Linked DNA regions of Homo sapiens: region 2 is linked to region 1. Evidence: promoter capture Hi-C in 16 types of primary human blood cells and fetal thymus (Javierre and others, 2016). All regions are on one chromosome and are shown on one strand. Each heading gives the region's core, a stretch centred on a gene start or on the middle of the fragment in contact. The rest is flanking DNA. Distances are from core to core; before and after follow the strand shown.

Region 1 (2,903 bases), core at 68-2,567:
TGAAGATAGTCAGAGGCAGGGAAGAAACTCCTTAGCACTAGTTAGAGTGATCAGAAACCAAGAGGACCTGATCGCTGTACCTGCCAGGTCTCAGTTTCTGTCTCCTTCCAACTGACCACCTCTTCCTCTGAGACTCACCAGTTCTGCATCTCTTGCTCCTCCTTCTGTTTCTCCGACCACTTCCACCTGTGGCTGTCACAGAAGGGCGGATGAAGGAGGGGACACTGGAGATAGACTCAGCATCTGCAGGCTTCCAAAGAGAGGGGCTAGGAGATCCACCAACACACCAGCACAAATACACCAGCACACACAGATACACACAATTGGTTCATGTATTGCTAGGTTACAGTTTGCTATGCTACAAAGGCAGTAGGCCAAATTTGATTGAATTGAATAATTCCTTATTTTCATCAGCTTCTCCTTTTTTTTTTTTTTTTTTTTTTTTTGAGATGGAGTATTGCTGTGTCACCCAGGCTGGAGTGCAGTGGTGTAATCTTGGCTCACTGCAGCCTCCACCTCCCAGGTTCAAGTGATTCTCTTGCCTCAGCCTCCCGAGTAGCTGGGATTAAAAGTACCCACCATCACGCCCGGTTAATTTTTGTGTTTTTAGTACAGATGGGGTTTTGCCATGTGGGCCAGGATGGTCTCGAACTCTTGACCTCAATTGATCTGCCCCCCTCAGCTTCCCAACGTGCTGGGATTACAGGTGTGAGCCACCGCACCCAGCCAGCCTCTCAGTTTTGAACATGCACTACCACCACCTCCACAACACACAAATGTAAATGCACTTTCGTATATAAAACTGTATAAATACAAGGAAGCTCATACACATGCAAGGATACACACATAAGCACCCCCAGATTCAACCACAGAAATATACGCCAGTACATTTGCATAAATTCAAACACCCCTTTACATGTAAAAATCATATAAGCACATACAGGGATGCAAGCAGGCATGGACAAATGCATGCAAGCACAGACAAACAGACAAAGCTAAGTAAAAAAGTGCAAGCTCACCTATGCTTACAAAAATAGACATACATATACCCACAAACCCACACACCCACACATTCACTTGCTCACCTGGACTTTGATATCTCTACCACTGTATCCCTGCCAATATCTACAGAGTGGGTAAAGGGATAGGCATCAGGTCACTGGGTTGCCCAAGCAGGAAGTCTGGGTTCCCTAACAACTTTTTCTAAGCTAATGCTCCTGGATGATGATGAAAAAGGAGGTGGGGAATGGATGAAATTTTATAACAGGGTGCAGAGGCAGGGTCAGGATAAAAGGCCCAGTTGGAGGCTGCAGCAGGGTGCAGGGCAGTCAGACCAGGACCATGGAACTCAGCGTCCTCCTCTTCCTTGCACTCCTCACAGGACTCTTGCTACTCCTGGTTCAGCGCCACCCTAACACCCATGACCGCCTCCCACCAGGGCCCCGCCCTCTGCCCCTTTTGGGAAACCTTCTGCAGATGGATAGAAGAGGCCTACTCAAATCCTTTCTGAGGGTAAGACACAGACGAATGGGGTCTGAGGGTGAGCTGCTTCTTGCCTTGGTACTTGGGGAAGCTTCACCAAACAGAATGAGGCAGACTTCCAGAGTCAGGGGTGGCACGGGCATGGTTGGTGAGTACGGAGCATGGTGAAGCATGATGGGTGGTATTATTAGGAGAAAAGCATCAAATTAAATTTAGCAGAGTTTATTTGAGCAAAGAAGTGACTCATGAGTTGGACAGCTCCCTAAACCAGGAAAGACACCACACGGCAGTATGGTCAAGTGGTATTTACAGGCAGAAAAAGGAGGTGACATACAGAAACAGCCTGATTGGCCACAGATCACAGCTTGCCTTACTTGGTCACAATCTGAGCAGTTTGCAGCCTGTGTGGACTGAAAGCCCAGCTGCTCTGATTAGCCAACACTTGGCTACTTGTCACAAGAATATATTCATTTGGGCCAGGTGCAGTGGCTCATGCCTGTAATCCCAGTGCTTTTGGAGGCCGAGGTGGTGGATCACCTGAGGTCAGGAGTTCGAGACCAGCCTGGCCAACATGGTGAAACCTTGTCTCTACTAAAAATACAAATATTAGCTGGGCATAGTGATGCGTGCCTGTAATCTCAGCTACCCAGGAGGCTGAGGAAGGAGAATCACTTGAATCCAGGAGGCAGAGGTTGCAGTGAGCCAAAATCTTACCACTGCACTCCATCCTGGGTGACAGAGTGAGACTCCTTCTCAAAAAAAAAAAAAAAAAAAAGAATATACTCCCAAGTTAGGTTGCAGTTCACTCTACAGAGAGAGCTTTAGGTCAAATTTAATTTAATTAAACAATTCTCCCCTTTTGGTCAGCCTCAAAATTTTGAGATTGACCAAAACCTTGGGCATCAACATTACTTCTGTCACCATCATAATGGACTTGTCTGCTCTCAGTATGGAATTCACAATGGACAATGTCAACGTAGTTGAGTGATTCTTTACCTTTTCTTCATGTTTTTGTTGTTCCCACTGTAATGAGCCCACTGGATGTACAAAGAATGGCTGCATATGAGCATTTAAGACTCTTTTTTTTTCTGAGACAGGGCCTCACTCTGTCAGCCAGGCTGAAGTGCTGTGGCATGATCACGTCTCACTGCAGCCTTGACCTCCCAAGGCTCAAGTGATCCTCCTGCCTCAGCCCCCCAAGTAGCTGGAACTACAGGTGCATGCCACCACGCCCAGCTAATTTTTGTATTTTTTGTAGAGACAGGGTTTTGCCATGTTGCCCAGACTGGTCTTAAACTCCTGGGCTCAAGCAATCCACCTGCCTCGGCCTCCCAAAGTGCTAGGATTACATGTGTGAGCCACCGCACCCGGCCAAGACTCTTGAGAAAATACAACACATCAGGGAGACTGTTATGATGGCT
Region 2 (2,922 bases), core at 86-2,585, 1.3 Mb before region 1:
GAACCCGGGAGGTGGAGGTTGCAGTGAGCCGAGATTGCACCACTGCACTCCAGCCTGGGAAACAGAGCGAGACTCTGTCTCAAAAAAAAAAAAAAAAAATTACTGCAGGTTTGAAGGCCTGGGCTTCAGTGAACCTCTTGCATATGCCCCCCAGCAGCTGGAACTACGGTATGCAACACCACATTCAATAAATTTTTAAATTTTTGGAAAGATGAAATCTTGCTATGTCTCCCAGGCTGGTCTACCAGTCCTGGCCTGACATGGGCCTTTCAATTCGGCCACCCAAAGTGCTGAGACTACAGGCCTCAGCAAACATCTTGATGAATATCCACTGTAAGCTCTGCCTTGTACCTTCCTGGTTTTGGGTGATTCAGTCTCTTAAATCAAGTCCCTCAATGTCCTTCTCTAGCATCCTGGCACTCAATGGGAAGGCCAGGCTAGGGTAGGAGACAGGGAGAGACCTGAGGCTGGAGGCAGGAGCCAGTGGTCACTGTGTGCAGATTCCACCTAAGGAACCATCAGCCCCATCGTCTGTTTCTCACCCCCATTCTGCTTGGGAAAAGGCACCTGAGAATTCATGCATTCTGCTCTCATAAATGCTCAGAGATAAGTCCTCGGTAACTCAAGGGCCCCAAGATCCCACAAGTTCTGTCACCGGGGATCCACAGTGATGCACAAGGGAAGTTAGACAGAGTACTGCTATGTGGGGAGGAACCTTCACATGCACAGAAGGCCACATGCATGTTCCCAGTTCAACACCCAGTCACATTCCAGCACACACACTCACAGTCACACAGAGCCGTGCCACTCACTGAGTCACACACACCTGCTCACTGTGCATATAAAGATGCTCATGCACTGGTCCGGCTGTGCTCACACACACACTCACATCACAGTCATGAAGACAAAACACAGTCACCTGATTACAATCACTTACACACCCACCCATATCCTGGAGGGCCATACACATCCCGTCTAAAGTCACATCATTTTTAGCAGAGTTTACTCTCATCAGATACCATCACATGCTCACAGAGGGTCACAATGTTCCAGCATCCACACCCCCTACCCCCCTACCCCAGGAGCATCTCAGATACCATAGCCCTAGGGTCTCTCTTCCACACACCCACAACTCTCAGTAAAGCATTCACAGTAGAAATTTTCATATTTTCATCCCATAAAATCTCCCTCTTCCCTTTTCTGTGTGACCTGAGATTATTGAAGGCTGTGCCTTTTTAACTCACGGGTAGCAGGGACATTGTTGTCTCCTTCTGGGTGGCTCTTCTGAATTGTGTCCAGACTTCTGTGTGAATCTCTGAGCTGCAGAATTTAAATGGCCCCTATCAGCCCTGCCTCTGGCTTTATTCCTGATTCCAAGCCCCTCCCAGGAAGGTTTCCTCACACAGTGAGAAGGGGTGGGGTGTCAGAAACAGACTCAGTCACAACCACACCTGTTTGGAGGCCTGTGCCTGTGATGCAGCAGAAACGACAGTGAGGGAGGTACTGGAGGAGGAAGGGGTCACCAGGGAAATGCACAGATAAAGACGATGGAGTGAGGATGAGTGGTGTGAGTTCCAGCCTCCATGCTTCTCATGAAGCCTTTTCTCCACTGTGCAGAATCTACCAGGAAGGTGTGCGTTCTCCTAACCTGTGCAATGGTAAAAAGCTGGAGATCCTGGGGGCAAGGCACTTGGCTTTGAAAGAAAATCCTCCTCCTCCTTCTCCAGTGGTTCTGGGAGAGCATAGATCTTGATCATTCGCAGGACCTGGGGACAGAAGTAGAGAAAACACTTGTGTCTTCTTTACCCACCCTCAGATCCCTTGGCTCTGCCAGGTGAGAGCCACTCCCACTCTGTCTCTCAGACACCTGGGCTTTAGGTACGCCCTCTTATTTCCCTATTTCTTTTCATGTGAATCAAAATCTGAGGCTGTCGTTCTCCTGCAGATTCTTGGAGAAAGGTGAGATTTCTCACTCATAAGTGGGAGCTAAGCGATGAGGATGCATTAGCATTAATATTAGTTGTGCTTGACCCGACAATAAATTCCACTTTCCCTGATCTAAAACCTTGACAATTCATTTCCAAGCATGCACTCCAAGATTCTGCTCATATAAATCAGCACAATCACACAGTTCTTTTGGTATATAACGTATTTCCTTAAGATTAATTTGTAATGTCATCCCACTGCATTCCTTGGGTTTTGACTCTGGGTATGGACATGGAAGCAATGAAAAGGGTCAGAGGCCACAATTAAGGAGCTTTGGAAACCCCGTTCTAGGCAACCACCCTCACACCCTGCCCAGAACTGTAGCTTGTAAGAAATTACCACAGAAGGGAAAGAGGAACTGCTTTTCCTTGCAACAGATATGCAATAGAATTTTGAGTAATATCCCAGCTATTCATCTGAACTGGGGAAGAAATATCAGTTCAGGGCGTCTGGCCACCTAGTAAGCTGTGGATAAAGATGTTGATGTTATTTACTTCTCAGGCATTCCAGCAATCCTTTCAGTGATGCAGAGAGATTGATCTTCTTTAACTTCCATATCCTCTGCACAATAGCCCATACTTCTGCTGGTTGCAACTATTTCTTCAGAAATCCATTATGCCCTACGACTTGCTTTCAGTCTTTCTTTTCAACTACATCTTTCCAAGCACACACTGTTCCCCCGAAAAACTTTAGGTTTTGTGTATGAAATTATATAATATCTGGGATTTGCTCTAAAATAATCTGGGGATGACAGTTCTCTCCTTTTGCAAACATTTGAAATTTTTTACAGTACAGTTTTTAATTAAGTAGCCAGTACATAGACTATATATAAAAGAAAAACAAAATTATCAGTACTGGCATGGCTATATCTTCAAGAAATGCTGTAGTATGAAAAGGCATGAAGAAAACATGCATAATACGAGACCAATTATTTTA

The links. The method cuts DNA at HindIII sites, captures the fragments that hold promoters and counts their contacts. A CHiCAGO score of 5 or more calls a contact.
Region 2: a contact is called between the fragment with the promoter of CLC here and the fragment with the promoter of CYP2B6 in region 1, in 4 of 17 cell types (naive B cells, neutrophils, total B cells and 1 more). The highest score is 6.8, in naive B cells.

What each region holds. Positions count from the first base shown.
Region 1 is chr19:40,989,965-40,992,867 of GRCh38, forward strand. It overlaps CYP2B6 (cytochrome P450 family 2 subfamily B member 6), which reads left to right and starts at 1,318. Exons shown (of 9, transcript NM_000767.5): 1 at 1,318-1,512. The coding sequence starts at 1,342. RefSeq lists promoters at 1-1,357, 1-1,323 and a cis regulatory region at 1,060-1,083. The HindIII fragment of the contact is 6,148 bases long and covers 1-1,571 here.
Region 2 is chr19:39,736,694-39,739,615 of GRCh38, forward strand. It overlaps CLC (Charcot-Leyden crystal galectin), which reads right to left and starts at 1,336. Exons shown (of 4, transcript NM_001828.6): 1 at 1,245-1,336. The coding sequence starts at 1,259. The HindIII fragment of the contact is 8,050 bases long and covers 1-2,922 here.